Linked DNA regions of Homo sapiens: region 1 is linked to region 2. The links are contacts of gene promoters, found by promoter capture Hi-C in blood cells and fetal thymus (Javierre and others, 2016). All regions are on one chromosome and are shown on one strand. The core of a region is centred on a gene start or on the middle of the fragment in contact, and the rest is flanking DNA. Distances in the headings are between cores, read along the strand shown.

Region 1 (4,853 bases), core at 2,146-4,645, 460 kb before region 2:
CTAGAGAAACCAGAAACTACTTCTGTAGAGACACTTCCTGAGACAGTTAGGTTATAGGCCAGAAAATGCAAATTTTGTACCTCTGCTTCAGCCAATCAGGGAACATGTTCAGCAAAGCTTGATTCACCCTAAAGGACGCACAGCCCTAAGACAAATTCTATTCTATTCTATTATCACTTTTTAAAAAAAGTTACTTTGGCTGGCCTGTAATCCCAGCATTTTGGGAGGCCGAGGCAGGTGGATCACTTGAGGTCAGAGTTCGAGACCAGCCTGGCCAACGGGGTGAAACCCCATCTCTACTACAAATACAAACAAATTAGCCCGGCGTGGAGGCGGGAACCTGTAATCCCAGTTACTTGGGAGGCTGGGGCAGAAGAATCACTTGAACAGGGAGGCACAGGTTGCAGTGAGCTGAGATCACACCACTGCACTCCAGCCTGTGTGACAGAGCGAGACTCCATCTCTAAATAAATAAATAAATAAATAAATAAATAAATAAATAAATAAATAAGGTACTTCAATTATCATGCTTTCATCACTCTGCAATTGTGCTCCTAAAGGTGCTTCTCGCCGGGCGTGGTGGCTCACGCCTATAATCCCAGCACTTGCACTTTGGGAGGCCAAGGCGGGTGGATCACAAGGTCAGGAGATCGAGACCATCCTGGCTAACACGGTGAAACCCCTACTGAAAATAAAAATTAGCTGGGCGTGGTCGTGGGCGCCTGTAGTCCCCGCTACTCGGGAGGCTGAGGCAGGAGAATGGCATGAACCCAGGAGGCGCAGCTTTTAGTGAGCTGAGATCGTGCCACTGCATTCCAGCCTGGGCGACGGAGCCAGACTCCGTCTCAAAAAAAAAAAAAAGGAGTGCTTCTCACATTTAAATACCCACTTAAATCATCTGTCACATCCTTCAAATCACTCCTAAAAAAACTCAACTGTTCCACAAAATTTAACTTGTCAGTGCTTTGATTTCATTTTTACAAAAACAAGCTCTTAAAAAAAAAAGCCAGGAGATCTATCAATCAAAAAAGCAACTACATTTTTAGAAAACATCTACTATATACCCAGAACTAAAGAGGATACCAAAAAAAAAGGCACAATCCCTGTCCTTAAGGAGTTAATGGTCTTGTTCAGAAAATACGACTTGCACTAGAAACAAGAAACATGGGAGAGCATCTATCTAAGGGAAAATGTTACCATAAATGTGAAAGACTTAAAAAATCTCAGGAGAGCTGATTCTTATTTCCCTGTCTAAATCAAATTTTTGTGCTATTTCATCACACTGTCCATGATACAATACATTTTTTGCTACCCTCCACTGAATTACATGGCCTACTAATAATTCCTTCATCATCATTTCTTTTGAACAGACTTCTCTGTGTTTTCCTGTCACTCTCACACAGATTATAAGTTTATGGATATGGCAAAACTTGCTGGTTCTACCTTCCCATGCTCCCCTTGTAAGGGCATCTCCGGAAGATGTGTGGTGCAGGAACGAGGTAAAGAAGCAGGCCAGGCACTGTGGCTCATGCCTGTAATCCCAGCACTTTGGGAAGCCGAGGTGGGCAGATCACTTGAGCTCAGGAGTTCAAGACCAGCCTGGGCAACATGGCAAAACCCTACCTCTACCCAAAAAATACAAAAAAATTAACTGGGCATGGCGGCATGTGCCTGTGGTCCCAGCCACTCAGGAGGCTGAGGTGGGAGGATCACTTGACCCTGGGAGCAGAGGTTGTGGTGAGCCAAGATTGTGCCACTGCCCTCCAGCCTGGGTCAGTGAGAACCAATCTCTTCCTGCGCTCCCCCCCGACCCAAAAAAGGCTAAAATTAATTCTGCTTTCAATATCTTCAGTAAATAGTCTGGTACTAGTGGAGATAAACTAGTAATTTTAGAGATGTTTCACAAACTTGTTACTTGGCTTGCTGTTCTTTACCACCAATAAATGAACTAGAGGGCCGGGCGTGGTGGCTCACGCCTGTAATCCCAGCACTCTGGGAGGCCAAGATGGGCGGATCACGAAGTTAGGAGATCGAGTCCATCCTGGCTAATACAGTGAAACCCCATCTCTACTAAAAATACAAAAAAATTAGCCGGGCATAGTGGCGGGCGCCTGTAGTCCCAGCTACTCCGGAGGCTGAGGCAGGAGAATGGCGTGAACCTGGGAGGCGGAGTTTGCAGTGAGCCGACGTCGTGCCACTGCACTCCAGCCTGGGCGACTGAGAGAGACTCCGTCTCCAAAAATAAAAAATAAAATAAAAAATAAATGAACTAGTACAGTTGATGGTGATCTGCAAAACCAAAATCATATAGTTATTTTCATAAGGAAATTCTAAAATGAAAATGGGTTAGACTGATTCATAATTTAATAATCTCAAATAACAAAGTGTGCTAATAAAATAGACAAATATTTACTACAAACCCACAATGTACCCTATACCTAGACTCTAGAGTCATACCACTGCTTTCTAATCCCAGTTTTGCTGCTTACTAGCCAGGTAACTGGGGAAATTGTTTAACTTCTTCATAAATACCTCTGTTTCTTCATGCACAAAATGGTTACACAAACAGTATCTACCTTACAGGATATTTGTTAGAATTAAATTTATACATGTAAAGCATTTAGAATAGTGCCTGACACATAGAAAGTGCTCAATAAACATTTGCTACTATTATTATTCTGGGCACCAAGCTTGGTGTTTATGGTGGAAAAGAATGAGTCCCAAAAAATTTCAGCCTGTTACATGATGATTCTATCTCTTCAAAATAAAGTACCTGATCTTAAGATGTACTGTACAACGCTCAATGGTTATGTTACTCAAAGACAACAGGTTCATCTGTTTACTGAGCTAGAAACATAGTGTGTAGTTTCACTTTTTAAAATGCAACAGCTATGCTGATTTTTTTTTTTTTTTGACACGGGTTTTGCTCTTGTTGCCCAGGCTGGAGTGCAATGGCATGATCTCAGCTCATCACAACCTCCATCTCCCGGATTCGAGAGATTCTCCGGCCTCAGCCTCCCGAGTAGCTGGGATTACTGGCATGTGCCACCAAGCCTGGCTGATTTTTTTGTATTTTTAGTAGACACGGGGTTTCTCCATGTTGGTCAGGCTGGTCTTGAACTCCCGACCTCAGGTGATCTGCCTGCCTCGGCCTCCCAAAGTGCTAGGATTACAGGTGTGAGCCACCTTGCCCAGCTGAAATTTTTTTTATCATTAACACTTGAAGTAGGCCGGGCATGGTGGCTCAAGCCTGTAACCCCAGCACTTTGGGAGGCCAAGGCAGGTGGATCACCCGAGATCAGGAGTTGGAGACCAGCCTGGCCAACATGGTGAAACCCCATCTCTACTAAAAATACAAAAATTAGCTGGGCATGGTGGTGGGCGTCTGAAGTCCCAGCTACTACTACGGAGGCTGAGTCAGGAGAACCCGGGAGGCAGAGGTTGCAGTGAGCTGAGATTGTGCCATTGCACTCCAGCCTTGGTGACAGAGCAAGATTCTGTCTAAAACAACAACAACAACAACAACAAAACGCCAGGCACAGTGGCTCAGGCCTGTAATCCCAGCACTTTGGGAGGCCAAGGTGGGTGGATCACCTGAGGTCAGGAGTTCGAGACCAGCCTGGCCAACGTGGTGAAACCCCATCTCTACTAAAATACAAAAATTAGCCAGGTGTGGTGGCATGCGCTTGTAGTCGCAGCTACTCAGAGGCTGAGGCAGGAGAATTGCTTGAACCTGGGAGGTGGAGGCTGCAGTGAGCTGAGTTCGTGCCACTGCACTCCAGCCTGGGCAACAGAGCGAGACTCCATCTCCAGAAAAAAAAAAAAAAAAGCAAACTTGAAGTAATAAAATAGGCTTCATTTATTTAAAAAAAAAATTGGGTACCTGAGATTATTCCAAAATATTTCCTAGCAGGAGGGGGAAGTGAATAGGTAAGAATTCTGGCAGCAATAGGCTGACAGATCTTGCACCTCCAACTGGGCCTGTTAGAGTCCAGTATATCTTCATTATGGATTACCAAACCACTTGTTCTGAGAACACTTATTTATGTATAAACATTTATTCATTCCTTCCATCAAACCAAAAAAAAAATTTCTTTCATGAAGCTTTCAAAATGGACACACTGGAAAAATATAAACTAATAAAATGAGACCAGGGAAGTTATAAATTTTAAAAAAGGCCAAGAACAAAAAGAAAGCTAGAATATAGGTGTGCTAATCAGAGTGTCACTTACTGAGGCTGAGCTGTAAAATCAAAGAGCTGCCACTGATTTTAATCTCCAATGACAGGCTCTACATAGGGTGCACAATGATTCATAGTATAAATGGGAAAACATTAGGACAGTAAAATGAGAAGGGCACTAAGAATAGCCAAGAAAGAGAAGATGAAGCAGATATAATGCCACACTCAAAAGAATTTGGAAAGTCAGTAAATATACAGGATCCAGGAGAGGCTAAGCACCAGGTCCTAGACCCTAAACAAATAAGCATCCAAAACCTACAATGCACAAGGTGCAGAAGAGATCCCTAAGTGATTCAGAGCCAGAATACATCAGTGTATAGTCACACAGAACTCTGCATCCATACCACACAGCCACAGAAGAAGCTGCCTCAATCAAGGTGTTTCTCCAGCATTTAATAACGTCCTTTCCTCTCCTCATTGACTACAGTTACAAATAGTATGGGCAGAGAACTGTCTCATCCCCACTCAGCTGACAAGTTCTATTCCCAACACTGCATGCTTATGACTCATGAGGGGATGGGGGAGGGGAGTGAAAGGAAACTGTAAAACAAAGCAACAAACTTGAATTTAGACTTACACTGACCAGGAGTAAGAATTCATCACTGTTTAATTA
Region 2 (5,092 bases), core at 1,447-3,946:
AGTGGCGAAATCCAGTTCCAACCAATACTTAAGCTGGGCATACATTTTACCCAGGAGAAAACTGAAGGGCGTGCAGGAGTTCACAGAGCTGTTTGCTGACCCAAGCCATGAATCTGTGGAGACCTGGGTCGGTCTTCAGGGTTAGTAGGGTCTGTAGGGTCTGTGAGGATCCGAGGCAGCCTGCAGACCTACTATCATCTTCTTTTTCTTTTTTATAATTGGCAATCATCCTTGGCTACCCAGTAGCATCTTTTTTTTTTTTTTTTGAGATAGAGTTTCACTCTTGTTGCCCAGGCTGGAGTGCCATGGCGCGATCTCTGCTCACTGCAACCTCTGCCTCCTGGGTTCAAACGATTCCCCTGCCTCAGCCTCCCGAGTAGCTGGGATTACAGGCATGCGCCACTACACCCAGCTCATTTTGTATTTTTAGTAGAGACAGGGTTTTTCCATGTTGGTCAGGTGGTCTTGAACTCCCGACCTCAGGTGATCCGCCCACCTTAGCCTCCCAAAGTGCTGGGATTATAGGCGTGAGCCACTGTGCCCAGCCCCCTGGTAGCATCTTAAATCAAGCTTTCCTTCCCTCTGGGTATCATGGACATGAACACCTTTTATGTCTCTGCCTCAAGAGGGGAGGAGGCACAGAGGAACAAAAATCCTTGTGAATTATGATAATTACATAGTGTTTAAATGAAGGGTGGCAAGGTGTGTAAGTCCATAGGTAAGGTTTCTTTTTTCTTTTTCTTTTCTTTTTTTTGAGATGGAGTCTCACTCTGTCACCCAGGCTGGAGTGCAGTGGTGCAATCTTGGCTCACTGCAACCTCCGTCTCCCGGGTTCAAGCGATTCTCCTGCCCTCAGCCTCTGGAGTAGCTGAGATTACAGGCACGCCATCACGCCCAGCTAACTTTTGTATTTTTAGTAGAGATGGGTTTTCACCATGTTGGCCAAGCTGGTCTCGCACTCCTGACCTCAAGTGATCTGCCTGCCCCGGCCTCCTGAAGTGCTGGGGTTACAGGTGTGGTGTGAGCCACCACGCCCAGCCTCTTCTTTTTTTTTTTTTTTTTTTTGAGACAGGTTTTCACGTTATTCCCCAGGTTGGAGTGCAGTGTTGCCATCTTGGTTTACTGCAGCCTAGGTTCAAGCCATCCTTGTATCGGCCTCCCAGGTAGCTTAGTCTACAGCTGTGTGCCACCACACCCGGCTAATTTTTGTAGAAACTGGGTTTCACCCCGTTGCCCAGGCTGGTTTCGAACTCTTGAGCTTAAGTGATCTAGTCACCTTGGCCTCCGGAAGTGCTGGGATTACAGGCGTGAGCCATCGTGCGGCCTGGCAAAGTTTCTTTATCCTCAGTGCTTGTCTGGGTGTGTTGTCTGGTGGGAACCACTTAGACCCTGTAAGTGAATGTGTATTCCCATCTTGTAGATGGTAACCTGAGGCCCAACGGGTGTCTGGAGGTAGTGTTGGACACCTCGTGGTCTGCATCTTGCTGCACACAGAATCCAGCCTAGACTCATTATCCTGGCCTTTGAAGTCTCCCCCAGTATGAATCCCCCAGCCTCCCATTCCTGTTTCTCCGAAGGCCAAGCTCGAAGCATCTGCTGCCTCGTTTCTGCCAAGTTGGCCCCACCTCCTGAGACACTTCTCCCCTCTACTGGCCTGGTGAAACTCAACACATCCTTCAAAGCCCAGCTCAGGTGTCACCTCTCTCCTGGTTGGAATTAACCTCTTCCTCCTTAGCACTCTCTGGTTTGGCCCTTTCTCTTGCGGCTTCTCCTGGGCAAGTGGCATAGCCTCCCTGATCCTAGTGTCTTCCTCTGTGCATGGGCACAGGAGTAATATCTGCTGTGATCTTTAACTCCTGTCAGTTCATTGACCTCTTTAACAACGTGATGAAAGCTTCCAGAAGAGCTAATGTATGTGGAGTCCCACGATGTGTCAGGCTAGGTGTTTAGGACTTTACTAACTACTGTCTCGTTTAATCGCGAATGCAGTGGACCTCTCTCTCCACACGTCCTAGTACGATCTTTATTTCACACGGGAGGAGAGGAGGGTGGGTGGGGTCGGCCAGAGAGGAGAAATGCGTCTCCAGAGTTCACAGGGCTGGTACTACCAGCAGAGCCCCGTCCACCATATGCCACAGCTGGGGTTCTAATCCCTGGACTGGCTTGTACTGGGCTCTCTGCCTCCCTGGCCGGCGCTCGGGGGCTGGGGGACAGAACACAATGTACAGCGTGCCTTCTACAATTTCGGGGTTCACGCACCCCCAAGCCCACCCAGGGCCAGGTCAAACGCGCCTTCGCCGGGTTGCTGTCTACAATCAGGCTTGGCTGCGCTCTCAGTAGGGGTCTCGGTCAACCTCTGCCCACCCGAACCCGGCGCCGTGGACCTGGTGTGAGGCTGGGGAGCCCGTCCTGAGGGGTGCCGGCTCGAGGCGCTAGAGCCACGGAGCCTGGTCCCGGGCTCCAAGTCCCAGGAATGTGGGAGGGCTGGGCGGAGGGGCGGGCGAGGCGGGAGCGCTTCCTCTGCCCGCGGGAGGGGATCCGCGGCCGGCTCGGAGGGGGCGGGGGCAGCGGCGGGCGGCGGCGAGGGGCTGCGGAGCTCCGCAGCCGCCGGGCCGGCCGGGGCGGGAGGAAGCGATGAATATTCAGAGGGGGAGGGGAAGGGAGGGGGCCGAGCGCTCGCCGCGGCTCCCTGCAGCAGCCCCAGCCGCATGACGCGCGGAGGAGGCAGCGGGAGCAGCCGCGGGAGCCGGGACCGGGTAGCCGCGCGCTGGGGGTGGGCGCCGCTCGCTCCGCCCCGCGAAGCCCCTGCGCGCTCAGGGACGCGGCCCCCCCGCGGCAGCCGCGCTAGGCTCCGGCGTGTGGCCGCGGCCGCCGCCGCCGCTGCCATGTCTCCGGGGAAGCCCGGGGCGGGCGGAGCGGGGACGAGGCGGACCGGCTGGCGGAGGAGGAGGCGAAGGAGACGGCAGGAGGCGGCGACGACGGTGCCCGGGCTCGGGCGCACGGCGGGGCCCGATTCGCGCGTCCGGGGCACGTTCCAGGGCGCGCGGGGCATGAAGCCGGCGGCGCGGGAGGCGCGGCTGCCTCCGCGCTCGCCCGGGCTGCGCTGGGCGCTGCCGCTGCTGCTGCTGCTGCTGCGCCTGGGCCAGGTAAGCGCCGGGTGGGCTCGGGCGGGGGGCAGGAGGCTGGGGCGGGACTGGCATTGACTGCACCTGCCCGAGCGTACCCCCCCGGGGGGTTCCGGGGAAGGGGGCGGGGGTCCGGATCCCCGGATCCCCGGAAGGCGACTTGCGGGGACCCCGGCCGGCCTCGCACGCCGGCGATCGATCCCTTTTCCGGCTGCCCAGGATCGGGGGAGAGAGGCGGGATCCGGGTGCCGCGGTGCCCGAGCCTCCCGGGGAAAGCCTCCGCGCGGGCTCCAGGCCGTCCCTGGCCCGGCTCTTCCCGGCGCTGGGCACATCTGGCGGGCACGGGCCCGGCTTCCTAGCCGGAGGCGGCCGGAGGGGGCGTGTTTGCGGAGGTCTGGGGACGCAGAGCCGGGCGGCCTGGCTGAGCCTTTGCCGACAGACCTCCGACCCGGCCTGCAGGGGCCCGAGGGGCGGCGGGGGCGACAGGGCAGGGCCAGGCGCTGGGCAGTGGGGCCCTGGGCGAGGCGCGGGACTCCGGGCCGAGGGCCCTGTTCCTGGGGAAAGTTCCCAGGCCGGGGAAAAGGTGGCCGCACGCTGGCTTTTCTCAAGGCAGCCGGCCCTCTTGGCGTCGTGCTTGATTTCATGGGTGTTTAATTCGTGCTTTGTGGGCGCTGGCTCCCCCTCCCCACCCCACCCTCACCCTCTTTTCTGGCTTCACTTTTCAGATAATGCTGTCCCTGGCGTTTTGGTGACCGACCTTTCCCCTTCCTGGCATTTCCATAGGGGCTGAGGCAGAGCAGCTGAAGGGGCATTCCCATTTCACAGATGGGGAACTGAGGGAGAGAAGTGAAATAGCGGAGCACCCAGCCCGTGCCATGGGAGCTGAGCCAGCGGGCACGTCCTCTTAGCCTCTGGAGCCTGTTGGGGTTTGAACCCGCAGGGGAAGCGGTCTAGGGCTGCCTTGCTGTGCGTTTCTGCAAATGACCATCTTGCTTGTTTTATACAGACACCATCTCTGAGGAAATGAGTTATTGGCTGGGGATGGAACCTGGTTTCAGGGAAAACTTCTCCAGCGCGAATACAGGAGAGAGCAGAAGCATCACCCTGGGGCAGCAATGCCGCCTAGCAGGCTGTAGGAGAAGGGGGCTGGGGCCTGGGGGCTGCGTGACCCTCGGCACCCAAGGGTCTCTCCTCGCAGTTTCCCCAGCAGGTTCTGCACAGGCTCTCCTGGGGGCCAGAAGGCAATGTGACCTCCTGCAGAGAACCTGGGAGTAGATGTCAGGAGACTGGCTCCAGGGCCGGGCCACAGGGCTGGACTTGCTCTTCAGGCTTCTCTACCCTCAGTTAACCGCATCTGTAGAATGAGTATAGCACCCTCTGCCCAATGGAATTGTTTGAGGGGCTTCCACTGGCCAATGTCTAAAAGAACTTTGTAAATATTAAGGGTTTCCACATGGGATTCTCATTATTAAGGTACAGTGCCTGTGGGGGCTGTCTTCTCCCTGTCCATGTAAGGAAATTCAGGGAAGCAGTGTCTGAAGTTAAAAAAGCCTTGTATTTGAAGATTTCTTGTATCAAAAGTTTATGCTAAAACAAAAACCACAAAAAACAGAAAACCCCCAAACTTAAAGCTTCATTTATTTTTAAATGTATAATATATGTAATTTTTTTTTTGCTTCAGCAAAAAAATTTTAAATTATATATATATAAAATTTATTTATTTTTGCTCCAGCCATAGTGGTTGCTAGCTGTGTTCTCAATCAGCAAAAAGTTTCTTGGGTAAATTTATTGCTTGCTCAATCCTTCCTTGTATTTCATTAGCATATTGCCACTCTACACTTGTCCTGTATTTAGATATTTCCTTCCTCTATGGTTTGTTCTGTAGAACCTCAAAAGGACTCTCTTATTTCTTTTTTTTTTGGACACATTATGAAATAGGAAGTCTAAAAGGCTCCCAGAAGAAGCAT

What was found. The method cuts DNA at HindIII sites, captures the fragments that hold promoters and counts their contacts. A CHiCAGO score of 5 or more calls a contact.
Region 1: a contact is called between a fragment that was not itself captured here and the fragment with the promoter of PTPRJ in region 2, in 1 of 17 cell types (activated CD4 T cells). The highest score is 5.3, in activated CD4 T cells.

What each region holds. Positions count from the first base shown.
Region 1 is chr11:47,519,016-47,523,868 of GRCh38, forward strand. All of the region lies in intron 1 of CELF1 (CUGBP Elav-like family member 1), which reads right to left. Among named protein-coding and RNA genes, the nearest start is that of CELF1, 32 kb to the right of the region's middle. The HindIII fragment of the contact is 1,414 bases long and covers 2,689-4,102 here.
Region 2 is chr11:47,977,863-47,982,954 of GRCh38, forward strand. PTPRJ (protein tyrosine phosphatase receptor type J) reads left to right here and starts at 2,697. Exons shown (of 25, transcript NM_002843.4): 1 at 2,697-3,146. The coding sequence starts at 3,051. RefSeq lists silencers at 2,608-3,197, 3,298-3,727. The HindIII fragment of the contact is 2,862 bases long and covers 1,893-4,754 here.